3 separate regions of the Homo sapiens genome follow, and regions 1 and 3 are each linked to region 2. Evidence: promoter capture Hi-C in 16 types of primary human blood cells and fetal thymus (Javierre and others, 2016). All regions are on one chromosome and are shown on one strand. Each heading gives the region's core, a stretch centred on a gene start or on the middle of the fragment in contact. The rest is flanking DNA. Distances are from core to core; before and after follow the strand shown. Region 1 overlaps RAP1GDS1 (Rap1 GTPase-GDP dissociation stimulator 1). Region 2 holds the start of METAP1 (methionyl aminopeptidase 1). Region 3 overlaps TSPAN5 (tetraspanin 5).

The links. The method cuts DNA at HindIII sites, captures the fragments that hold promoters and counts their contacts. A CHiCAGO score of 5 or more calls a contact.
Region 1: a contact is called between a fragment that was not itself captured here and the fragment with the promoter of METAP1 in region 2, in 2 of 17 cell types (M2 macrophages and total B cells). The highest score is 5.8, in M2 macrophages.
Region 3: a contact is called between a fragment that was not itself captured here and the fragment with the promoter of METAP1 in region 2, in 5 of 17 cell types (M0 macrophages, total B cells, total CD4 T cells and 2 more). The highest score is 7.3, in M0 macrophages.

Annotation. Positions count from the first base shown.
Region 1 is chr4:98,441,700-98,445,367 of GRCh38, forward strand. RAP1GDS1 (Rap1 GTPase-GDP dissociation stimulator 1) reads left to right here. Exons shown (of 15, transcript NM_001100427.2): 15 at 291-2,159. The coding sequence ends at 418. Among named protein-coding and RNA genes, the nearest start is that of RAP1GDS1, 180 kb to the left of the region's middle. The HindIII fragment of the contact is 1,285 bases long and covers 1,445-2,729 here.
Region 2 is chr4:98,993,906-98,997,554 of GRCh38, forward strand. It overlaps METAP1 (methionyl aminopeptidase 1), which reads left to right and starts at 1,816. Exons shown (of 11, transcript NM_015143.3): 1 at 1,816-1,962. The coding sequence starts at 1,849. MIR3684 (microRNA 3684) reads left to right here and starts at 3,482; the gene lies at 3,482-3,555. RefSeq lists enhancers at 1,258-1,307, 2,229-3,011 and silencers at 1,548-1,867, 2,028-2,487. The HindIII fragment of the contact is 4,143 bases long and covers 1-3,111 here.
Region 3 is chr4:98,467,555-98,471,798 of GRCh38, forward strand. TSPAN5 (tetraspanin 5) reads right to left here. Exons shown (of 8, transcript NM_005723.4): 8 at 2,813-4,244. Among named protein-coding and RNA genes, the nearest start is that of TSPAN5, 190 kb to the right of the region's middle. The HindIII fragment of the contact is 1,953 bases long and covers 1,758-3,710 here.

The sequences.
Region 1 (3,668 bases), core at 837-3,336, 550 kb before region 2:
GAGGCTGCAGTAAGCTGTGACCATGCCACTGTACTCAAACCTGGGCAGCAGAGCAAGTCCCCATCTTTAAAATTTTTTCCTTTAATTTAAAAAAAAGTAAAGTTTTTATGATTTTTTTAAATTATAATACATTTCTAAGAAAGACATTGCTAGGCTACTGCTATGTCTTTTTCCAGAATTGTTTCTAGTTTTATAAGCTTAGTCTTGTCAAAATAAACATTTTGGTATATGTTTTGGATAGACTTAGAACAACCTAACAGAATCATATCTGTTATTTTTTTGTCTTCCAGAATGTCTACACAAGGAAGTACAGGATTTGGCTTTTCTAGATGTCGTATCCAAACTTCGCAGTCATGAGAACAAAAGTGTTGCCCAGCAGGCCTCTCTCACAGAGCAGAGACTTACTGTGGAAAGCTGAGAACTGCCCGATACACGGCATCATCCCATCTCTAATTTCCCCTCTGTCCTCCATCCAGCGGCTTCTTCCGCTTCATTCTCTACCATACCACTTGTGCATGCATGTGATGTTCTAATACCAATTGAAGAACCGCTGTAGGTACCTCCCTAATAAGATTTCTAAACCTATAGTTAGTGTGATCATGACTTTGTCAAAGGCAAGTCTCCACCCATAACCGTTCTCTTGTATTCCTGTTGCTTGAGCTACATTAAGTAGAATGTGCATGTTGTAGTCCTATGATGATGTAAACTTGGTACTACATAATGACTTGCTCCACACATGCAGTAAACTACATAATGATGTACTGGTAAACTAGAAACAAAGAATGCAGCAGGATCTGTCTAGCTTATTAAAGATGAAACTGAATTGGAAAAATAGCTCCATTTTTTGGTGCTTGGGAAGCACAGTGACCAAAAAAGTTGTATGGCTGCTTATTCATTAGTCTTTCCTACTGATGTCAAATCCATGGTACCTAGAGTTAAATAAAATTCCAATGCTCTTACTCTTTAACTTCTGGTTTCTCCTTTTTCCTTTTTAGACTATTGAAACTGCCACAAACTTGGCAAGACTTTCTGAGGTTTCTGATTCCATATTTAATTGACTATTATCAATAGCCTGATATTGAAAAACATTTGTAGTTTTCAGTGTGAAACTAAGGGGTTGAAGAATCACTATTACAATCCCTATTACAGAGCATTTCGGGTTTTGCTTGTATTTTAGATTCTGATACATACGCTGTTTCACTCAGGAACTACTTCTACCAGTTAATCAGCATTATCCAGCACTTGTCTTTAAAATTCATTTGGCGCTTGTTTGTTTTCAACTGAGGAAATTGAGTATAGTTCATTGAAGAATGGAATTTTTTTTTTTTTTTTTTTTTTTGCTGTTTTTCATCATTCAGCTAGAAAGTGAGAAGTTTTATCTTCCATAGTCCTTTTAAATCTTATGTTAGAACTAGCAGGACGTAGGTGGAAAGATGAAGAAATAAGCTTGTCTAGACTAAAGAAAGGAAAGCAGGTTATAAAAGCCATAGTAGCCAGTCCAGTTCATTCTGCAGATGGCCCCATACCAATCGCTGTTAGAGTTTGCCACCTCCACTTTCCCACTGAGAACTGCAGCAATTTTAAAGGATATGAGAAAGCCAAGACTCAAGAGATGAGAAGACCCCCTTGGCGAAATATAGTGTACTCTTCACTGCCACTGCCACCACCAAATGGGTTTTTAGAGCTTTGAAACACAATCTTTGTAAATTAATCAAAACCTCCCTGTGACCCACCTGCCTTCTCCCCATACCCAAATTTGACCACTACTGGCCTAAAAGGCAAGATGGGCTTCGATATAGAAGGACTGCAAGACAGTAGAAAGGGCTGCCACGGAGGTGACAGTAGCTCCTTCCTCTCCAACATGTGATGCTACACATCTCTGTGGATAATCTAAGTTGGACTTTTGACTCTAAAACAGCTATAATCCAAGAAAGTTAAATTCTAATGGAGGTAAAGAATCTTGACTGATTGTTCCCTTTGATGTCCAAATAAGGGAACTATTGTGAGTACGTATGCTACACTTACTATAAGAATGATACTGTTTGTTGTCTTTCTCCTGGGCTGGATAGTGGACTATATTTTATTACAGGCTTTGAAAGACATCTGTAATGTTGCATATCTGTTCATATTAATAACTTAATAAATAGTATATGAAGCTATAATGGCATCATTTGGTTTGTTTGTATATTTTGTCTCTATTTCCAGCTCCTAGAATAAGGCTTGCTATTGATGTTCAACAAATATTTGTTGACTGAATGAATGAATCCTGCATCCATGAAGTTTCCAGACTGCCTGAACTAATTCCAGAAAGATAGACTGACTGACTGATAGAAAGTTTGAGATTTGATAGTTTGTCTGACTTTAGGGAAAAAATTTTAACAAAAGCATCCTAAAATCGTAAATGTGAGAGAAGTTACCATCTAGGCCAGCTGCCAGCCATCAATTTGCTAATATGCTAGGAACTCCCATCTCCAGCAAAATAAAGTGCAATTCAAAGTACTCATCATTGTACGGAAAGACCAGAAGGCTGTGCCCTTATCACAGGGGCTACCAAATTAGATGGTACACTGATGTGCCATTGCAGTGGATGGGAGAGTCTACAGACTGTACTCTCGCTTATCTCCTGCTACTAAATCTTAGTCCTAGAGGCCACTATTTATTAAGTTAGTTTGCTACCCACTAAGAGTACATTCTAAGGGAGACAACAGGAGGGAAGAACAGCACAACAAAGCTTTAACTGTCAATCTTGAGCCAGTACTAGAACATAGATGAAAAGGGCAGGAATACAAGCAAAGAAGATGCCTGAGTGCAATGCACTAGAATATACCCCTTTCCCCCCAACCCCATTAGCAACTTGGAGTCATGCCAGCCCACCCACCTAGACCATAACCTCATTGTGCTCAAAGCAAACACTAGCCCATAACCCAGTGTTTTCCATGATAAAAACATGTTTTGAGCATACTGTCTGATAAGAATGGAGACATAGAAGAAAACTTTTTCATCTAAAATGATTTCTTGAATAGAATGCAGTTCTCATATGCAAGCATTAGTCTGAAGTGTTCTGAAAAATGCTACATGTGAAGAATTCAAAAAGAAATGCTCTTTGTTATAATTAGGAGGCTTATTATCTAATTCTCTTGAACATACTGGGTGAGGATATCTAGACATTAAGACATTTAGGTGAGCATTACCCTTTGTATCCAGCTGTTACTGGAATCAGTAAGCTTAAAAGCCACTTAACATTAGGACGCTATAACATTTGTATTACACAAGTGTCTATTAAAAAGCATGTAATAATATTTGGGATGAATCTTTATAGCTGTAGCCAGGAAAACTGAGGTCTTTTTTCACAGGTGTGATCTCTAACTTTGCCTATATACATATAAATAATATGCCATGTAACTTCACTCTGTCGTCCAGGCTGGAGTGCAGTGGCACGATCTTGCTCACTGCAACCTCCGCTTTCCAGGTTCAAGTGATTCTCCTGTCCCAGCCTCCCAAGTAGCTGGGATTACAGGCATGTGCTCTGACGCCTGGTTAATTTTTGTATTTTTAGTGGAGACAGGGTTTTACCATGTTGACCAGGCTGGTCTTGAACTCCTGACCTCAAGTGATCCACCCGCCTCGGCCTCCCAAAGTGTTGGGATTACAGGCGTATGTTTTATAGG
Region 2 (3,649 bases), core at 566-3,065:
TCGGCCAGCCCAGAGAAGGGCTCCCACGGTGCAGCGGCGGCTGAAGGGCTCCTCAAGCACGGCCAGAATGGGAGCTGAGGCCAGGAGGCACCGAGAGCAAGCAAGGGCTGCGAGGGCTGCCAGCATGCTGTCACCTCGCTGTCACCTCTCACTGTGAGCACCACTGCACTCCAGCCTGGTTGACAGGATGAGATGCTGTCTCAAAGAAAAACCAAACGACAAACAAAAAGTTGACATCATAGTAACTGAAGAAATCAGGTAAGTAAATTACTTTATATGGTATGGTGCAGTTTTTATTTAAAAAATATTTTATACATACATACATACTTATTGATTTTTTTCTTGTATACAAAAGTATATGTATGTATGCATGTAAACATTTCTATTACTTGATTTTATTACATCATTTTTACTGCTTATATTGCAAAACTAAGTTTTTTTTTTTTTGAGACATGGTCTTGCTCTGCCGTTTGGGCTGGAGTGCAGTGGCAGGATCATAGCTTACCATATCCTTGACTTCTCAGGTTCAACAGATCCTCCCAGCTCAGCCTCCTCAGTAGCTGGGACTACAGGCGCCTGCCACCATGCCCGGCTAATTTTTTAGTTTTTAGTTTTAGTTTTTGTAGAGACGGGGTTTTGCCATATTTCCACCCTGGTCTCGAACTCCTGGCCTCAAAGAATCCGCTGGCCTTGGTGCCCTGGATGCCCTGGCCTCTCAAAGTGCTGGGATTGATTACAGGCGTCAGCCACCGCTCCTAGCCAAAACAAAGTTCTTAAAAATAAAAGTAGTATGAGCTTTTCTGGTGTATTAAGTACGGAGAAGTTAAAAAAATACAATAACAAAGTTCACAGCCTTTTGTGATCAGTAAATGTTAGTTTTTCGCTCTTCCCTAGTGACAAGGAGGCACTCAAGCATGAGTTACAACACAACCGACCTGGAATACAGCTGAAAAGATTGAAGCAACAGGTTCGCAGGGGAAGGCCTTTACAGCTTCTTTCGACTCTGACATTTCAGGATCAGCACAATTCTCCCCTATTTACTGCTGAAGCAATCAACTGGGATTATACAAAAAAATTATTTGTATTGAATACCTGACAGTTGTGTTACTATTACTAGCACTATCGGTTTTGAAGGGGAGGTGGTGGTGTGTGGAAAAAAAAAGTCTGGCAGGAGGGAGGGCAGATGTGAATCCCAGCCCACCGTCCCGTTGACAGCTCTATGGCTCTCCTTTCTGTGAATGAGCGGTGGTCCTTAGGCCTCAGACCCGACAATGTCAGTGAGAAACAGAACTTAACCCAAGGGACTGTTCTCCAAGGAGCGGCGGGGGAATCCAACGCAGAGGAGCGCAGCGCCCTCTCTAGCCTCCTGCGGGTGTCGGGGATGATCAGGGCTCCTGGGTGTTCGTCAGTGAAGACGACTGTCTTATCTGACTGTAGGCACAGAGAGTGCGCCGCGAGAGGGCGGCTCCTCACCGTCAGGCGCCGGCAGGTCGCGTTCTCTGCTGGCCGACGCCCGAAGGCGCCGAATGGGGGGGCCCTGCCGAGCTCCCTTACAGCCCCAATGTGCGCGCCGCCGGGAGGCTTGGGCACGCAGGCACCGCCGGCGGGGGGCGGGGCGAAGCCGGCGGGGCGGGGCACCAGCTGCGCGCGCGGGGCGGGGGCGGGGCCGGGGCGGGGCGCGCTGCGTGGTCCCGGCCGGCCCTGGCTCCTCCCCCTCCCGCGCCCAGGCCAGCGGCGGGCCCAGCTCCTCCCCCGACTCGGTCTCTCTCCCCTCCCCTCCGCCCGGCAGTTCCTCCCTCCCGCCGCCGCCTCTTCCTCGGTGAGGCGCTCTTCCAGCGGGCAGGCAGCATGGCGGCCGTGGAGACGCGGGTGTGCGAGACAGACGGCTGCAGCAGTGAGGCCAAGCTCCAGTGTCCCACTTGCATCAAGCTGGGCATCCAGGGCTCGTACTTCTGCTCGCAGGTAGGCGCCCGCTGCCCCGCGGATATGCCGCCGCTGCGGGACCCCTCCTCGCTTCTCCCCTGCTGGCTCCTCCCGCCCTTGCGGCGAGTCGGGACGCGCTCCTCCTCTTCCCCCCGGCCGCGTTTCCTCCTCCCCCCACCCGCGTCGCCACCGCCCCCTCCTGCCTCCTGGGGTCCCTGGGTCCTCGGGAACCGCGCTGGGCTCACGCGGGGGCGGGGGCGCCACCCGCCGCGGCCATGTGGGCTGGGGCGGAAGCGGGCTGTGCGGGGTCGCGTGGCCGCGCTAGACCTCCGCGTTCTGGGGCCGGTTCCCCGCGCTGGGGCGGGGGCCGCCAGGTGTGCGGGCTGCCGGAGGCAGGTAGCGGCGCCGGGAAGGAGGGCAGCCCGAGCGTCGCGAGCCTCCACATCCGCAGCACCGGCGGGGCTCGGGTCTGGGCGCTGGAGGCGCCGGGCCGTCCGTCGGGTCCCTGCGGGGTGGGGGGCTGAAGCTACCTGCCGGGCTCTGAGAGATGGGTGGCCCGAGGACCGTCGGAGTCGCAGAGAGGAGGAACGCTAGCTAGCTCCAGCCCCACTTCTTTGTGCTTTACTACCGTGCTTTGACACTTAAGCAACTTTGGGGGTGGGGAAGGGAGAGGTCTGTGTAATTCATTCTTTTCTTTCGGTATATAAAATTATTAATTTACAAAACTGTAAGCTAACGGGATGAGTCACCTGTGACTGAATTTCCCAGAGTGAAAAGGACAGTTCCATTGAGGGTTAGGCGTGAATGCTGTAGTGTATTTTAAGTTTTGTGCAGTAGAGCAAACCCAGCGTTGAATGGGGTCCAGACTGAAGCGTGTGCTCGTGTTTCTGTTTACTGAAGAGTACTAGTGTTGCTGCTGCATTTCGAGACCCAGGATGAGGGCTGGGCGGCAATAGTATGGCTCTTAGTTACAGTCCAGGTTTAGTGAAGAGAGGCACATGAATATTCAAATATTAAATTGGTAGCGTCCTGTGGGGAGGAGAGCCGGAATAAAGAGAAGGCCTGATTGGGGCCCTGCCCTTGCCAGTTATTGTGCGATCTTGAATTAGTAAAGTTACTTAATCTTTCTGAGTTCCAGTGTTACACTGTACAGAGGGGATGATTATAGCTTTCTTTGTAAGTTTCACAAGCTTCTTCTGAGACCCAGATTATCCAAGGAACGTGAAATGCTGTTATAATGTAAAGTCCTTTATTTTTTAAAGGATTCTAGTACGATTTAACTCTGCCATAAATAAAAATATGAATAAGAATGAAGGCAGATATATGAACACAATACAAATAATAAAAGTGTTTTCCAACATAAAACATAAAAACGTAAAGATATAAATAAATACAATCTTTACGTCACAATATTTGTAGATAAGCGATTGCAAAAGGTCTTAGCTGTGTTATACAGTCTTGTTTTTAGATAGGATATGATCCTTGACCTTGTTAGTATAATTTGGAAAAACTTGCACGTGGAGGAGTGTTGCTTGATCTAAAAATAGCATTACCGAACAATCTAAAGGACCTGTACTAGGTTTAACATGTTGAGCATTACTCATGTTAGACCTAGTACACGTCCTTTAGATTCTTTAAAATTCCCAAATTCTATCTTGTTGTGGCCTGTGTGGGACCTGAAATTAAGAAACAGTGTTTGCTTTTGACAGTTGTACCATCTGAGTAG
Region 3 (4,244 bases), core at 1,484-3,983, 530 kb before region 2:
GCGTGTAAAGGAAATAAAACACCTACCCGCCCTAAGCAGGCAACATAAGCTGTGTACCTTCAAGTTTCTCCAAAGCACAAGCGCCTCTGAACATACAGTGTTTTTATCCCTGAACTATTCCAACTCCAGTCCGGAGTGGTTTTACGCAGTCGACACTAGAGGGCAGGCCATTAAAACGTTCCCGTTCAAACGAGTTGCTCTGCAAATGCAAGAGCTGACACAGCACCTGAAGGTCCGCTCCGTATCTGAAAAGTAGCTTTCCCCCACGGAGAATGCAAGCGTGCGTTCGGTATGGGGCAAGAGCGTGGGAAGCCTGCTACTGCTTTCCTTTCGGGGCATATTTACAGTGAAAGCCCGTGAACTCGCCTGCTCTTCCCTTAGATTTACTTTACTTGGGAATTCCTAGAAGTGGAAAAATAAATCACAATGGCCAGTGCGGGTCCCCAGAGGTTTAGCCCCGGCTAATGGATAACAGGAAGGGACTAAATCAGCCTCCTCTCACCAGCGGCAAGTTTACAAGAGAACCACTCAGCATGAAAACGCCAAAGCAAGCTGTACTTAATCCCTCAAGAAGTCCTAAAAACTGTAATTTTATTAAGTTAGAGACAGGGTCTTCCTCTGCCAACCAGGATGGAGTGCAGTGGTGCGATCATACTTCACTCCTGGGCTCAAGCTGTCCTCCTGCCCCAGCCTCCAGAGTCGCTGGGAGTACAGGTGCATGACGCCAGGTCCAGCTAATTAAAAAAAATTTTTTTTTTCATTTTTTTAAGACACGGGGTCTTGCTATGTTGCCCAGGCTAATCTTGAATTCCTGTCCTCAAGCAATCATCCTGTTTTGGCCTCCCAAAGTGCTGGGATTACAGGTGTGAGCCAGCCACCTTGTCTGGCCTAAAACTGTAATTTTATAAACTCTTTGTGGCAAACCCCTCCAAACAAAAAGGCTCGGGTGAGTGTAAGGATGGCTTTGCTCCAAGTTCAGAGTTTGGCTTCTCCGCCGTGCTCCCTGCCCCCACCCACCCCCCCACCCCCATCTGACTGCCTTGTCTGTTATCATGTGTAGATTTTCTATGGATTTTATTGTGTCATCATGATAAAGCCAATGTTAATGTATTTTTCAGGCAAATGCTGCATTTTCCTCCTCAAAGACTAGGCTTCTCACTCTGGAATTGGGCAGCACCTAGAAGCAGCCCCATGGCCTCACTGGAGAGAGCTCTGGCCATGAAACCCTGCTGGCCAGCGTTTATAGAGGGCTTCCCAGTTCTTCATTGGAGGTCTAAACAGGATTTCCCTAGAGAAGGAGGGCTTCGTGGAATAAATGACAAAGGGAGTTGGGGTGGCCTGCCAGGTCACTGGGCTCCAGCTCCTCATTGTTCAGCCCACAGGCTTCCCAGGGCGCCTGTCCAAGCCAGCCGGAAACAGACGAAACTGCAAAATCACTCCATTCCTGCCCACACAAACACGGGGAAATGAATGATCACTTTGCACAAGAAACCTCCAAGAGACACTTTGAGGATCCCCTTGAGGAAAGGACAACTGGGACCTGTGGCAGGAAGAAGGCTGAAAGAAAAGTCCAGGTTTATTACTCCCTGGGAGAAGGAAGAGGAAGAACAAAGGAAATGCACTTCTTTAAGTACTTCATGATGCAAAATATTTTTAAATTCCTGAGTTCACATTTAAAAACTGTATATTTTTAAATTATAGGAGCAATGATGTTAGTGGTAACCAGCCCAACAACAGAAATAAAGAGAAATTTAATAAGCTTCCCCTAAAGTCTACCTTCTACACATTGAAGAAACTTCCTCCAAGTTTTTGAGTTTTATAGACAAAGCATCCTTTTACTTCTGAGCTGTCATTTTTTTTTCCTTTGTTGGCTTATAGTTTGCAACAAGCAAAGAGGGCCAATGTAGACAATAAGAAAACTCAAGAAGCAGGGATTGGCCATCTCCAATCATCACTGATAAATTTCCTTAAAATCAAAATAACGTTGTTTCAAATATCTGAGATATGAGGCAAAACGTTTCTTGAACAAGTCTGACACTATGTTGTCAGGATCTAAGTGTGCTATATGAACCTTAAAATTTGTTTTCATTTGATCTTTGAAAAAAGTATTTAATCAGTTCTAACGACGGAAGTCTTCTTCTGCAGTGATAATTCACAATGAAAGACATTTAAGCTGACGTTTCTCTAATGGGTTTTTAAGATTCCAGCTCCAAGGGACTGTGAGAAATTATTTTCTTATATAAAAGGTTGTGAATATTATCAACATTTATCTAAGCCCATAAGTCATAAATCCCACCAGGCATTAAATTTTCAAGGGAGCTTTTAAAACATAGATTACCCTGTCTCCCACTCCAGAACTGCTAGGGGTAAGGTCTGGGGAATCTGTATTTCACATGGTCCCCAAGTGATTGTAACCAGCAGATGACCTCATGGGCAGGGATTTCCTACATACGAGGCTCTGGCCTCTGTGTCTTGTCAGTCAGCATTTTTAAGTACAAAGGAACCTTTCCCTTCCCAACTACAAAATCTTACCTTTCTGTTTCCCCTCCTAGAAAACTGGATCAGAACAATGCTTCTCAAAGTGTAGTCCCCAAACAAGCCGCAAACAGCATCACCTACGATCTTATCAGAATACAAATTCTCCAGCCCCACCCCAGACCTACTAAGTTAGAAATTATGGGCACGGAGCAAATGCATTCATGTGTTTTAACAAGTCCTCCCAGTGATTCTGACACCTGCTAAAGTTTGAGAACCACTGGATTCGAAAATTTCACAATTTCAAGAAAGAAGTAATGAAGAAAGACACACCATGTAAGGTAGAACCAAGTTTATTAATGACAGCCTTTATTACAATCACTCTCAAGTGTAAAAAATAAAGGGTGATTAATTAATATTTAAAACTCACTCGGACTTGCTGTTTGGCCTTTCAGTGGATGTGCCAAAGGGCAGGGATCTTGCCTGATTCTGAATCAATTGGCCAGATGGAGTTCACTGGAGAATGAGGCAATCAACAAAAAAGACAAATGATGCCAACTGGAGAGAGCTCGTGTCTTCTCCATGTTGGAAGGACATTACAAAATGGCAACTGTGGTGGGGGCAGAGATGAAGTAAGACAACCTTACAGTCGGAGTAAGATGTGAATACCTCTACCTATACAGAGACAAAAACACACACATGCAGAGCCATACACACACCCAAACAGTGAACACAGTTTTGAAAATAATTTCCTTTTTGTCCTTTCTCTGAGCAGACTGACACATTCATCGGCCACCACCATGCACCATGGGGCTGAAATGGAAAACCTCGCTTAATTTCCACAAAGTATTCTAGCTGGCTGCCCAGTTATGTGCTGGCAAATCTGTCCGCACCGAAAAATGTGCCTGTGGTTTTCCCAGAGTTCCACAGACTGATATCTGCTCCCCAGGAGGGCAACATCCGGTGGACACCAGCTGGATTAAAATCTAGAGGGCAAAACTCGTCCCTCCCACCTAAAGTGGGGGCAGGAGCGGCAGCACCAGGAAGTGGTTTCCCACTTTGTGTTACAGAGTACTTGCCCCAGTTCAACGCATTCCCCTCCAAAGTATTTGTGCTTTGATACCATCCTGATGGTTAGTCTGCAATAAGAGAACTGAAGGAGCTATGGCCATGCACTATTTTCTTTTTTTAATAAAAGCAAACTAAAACTGGAGGAAGAAAAAGAAACCATTAGAAGCTTTTGACTGGGTCAATGTTGTTTCCAAATTGGGTTTAATTCCATTCAAAGAGAAAGAAGGGGAGGGTGCAGAAAAGGCCACTCAGATCGACTCTGGAAGAGATCATCAAGACCAGGGAAGCATTTGGATGGTACAGCTGGTCTCTTCCCAGCCAGACTGGGAGGACATGCCACAACCTCCCAAGGCTGTGAACCTAGGAAATAAGTGCTGACCAAATAACATATTTCAATGTTTGTAGAAAAGCTGGCAGGAAAGGGAGATGATGGATTCAGATTCACAGGTCATGCAGATTAAGACTTAATCAAAAATTAATGCTTGAGCTGAGTAAGAAAACACTAAAATTTAAGTGGAACTGTATCATAGCTTTCACCTTTGGAAGACGAAAAACAACAAACATACAAAACAAAATGACCCAGAATATTCCAGAGTTTCCAAAAATCCAACTGCTAATTTTGGCAGGGTGAGAAGAAGGGGATATTTAACTGATACCTCTTCATTAACCTCATTTTCTCCTTGAATTTCACTGATAAA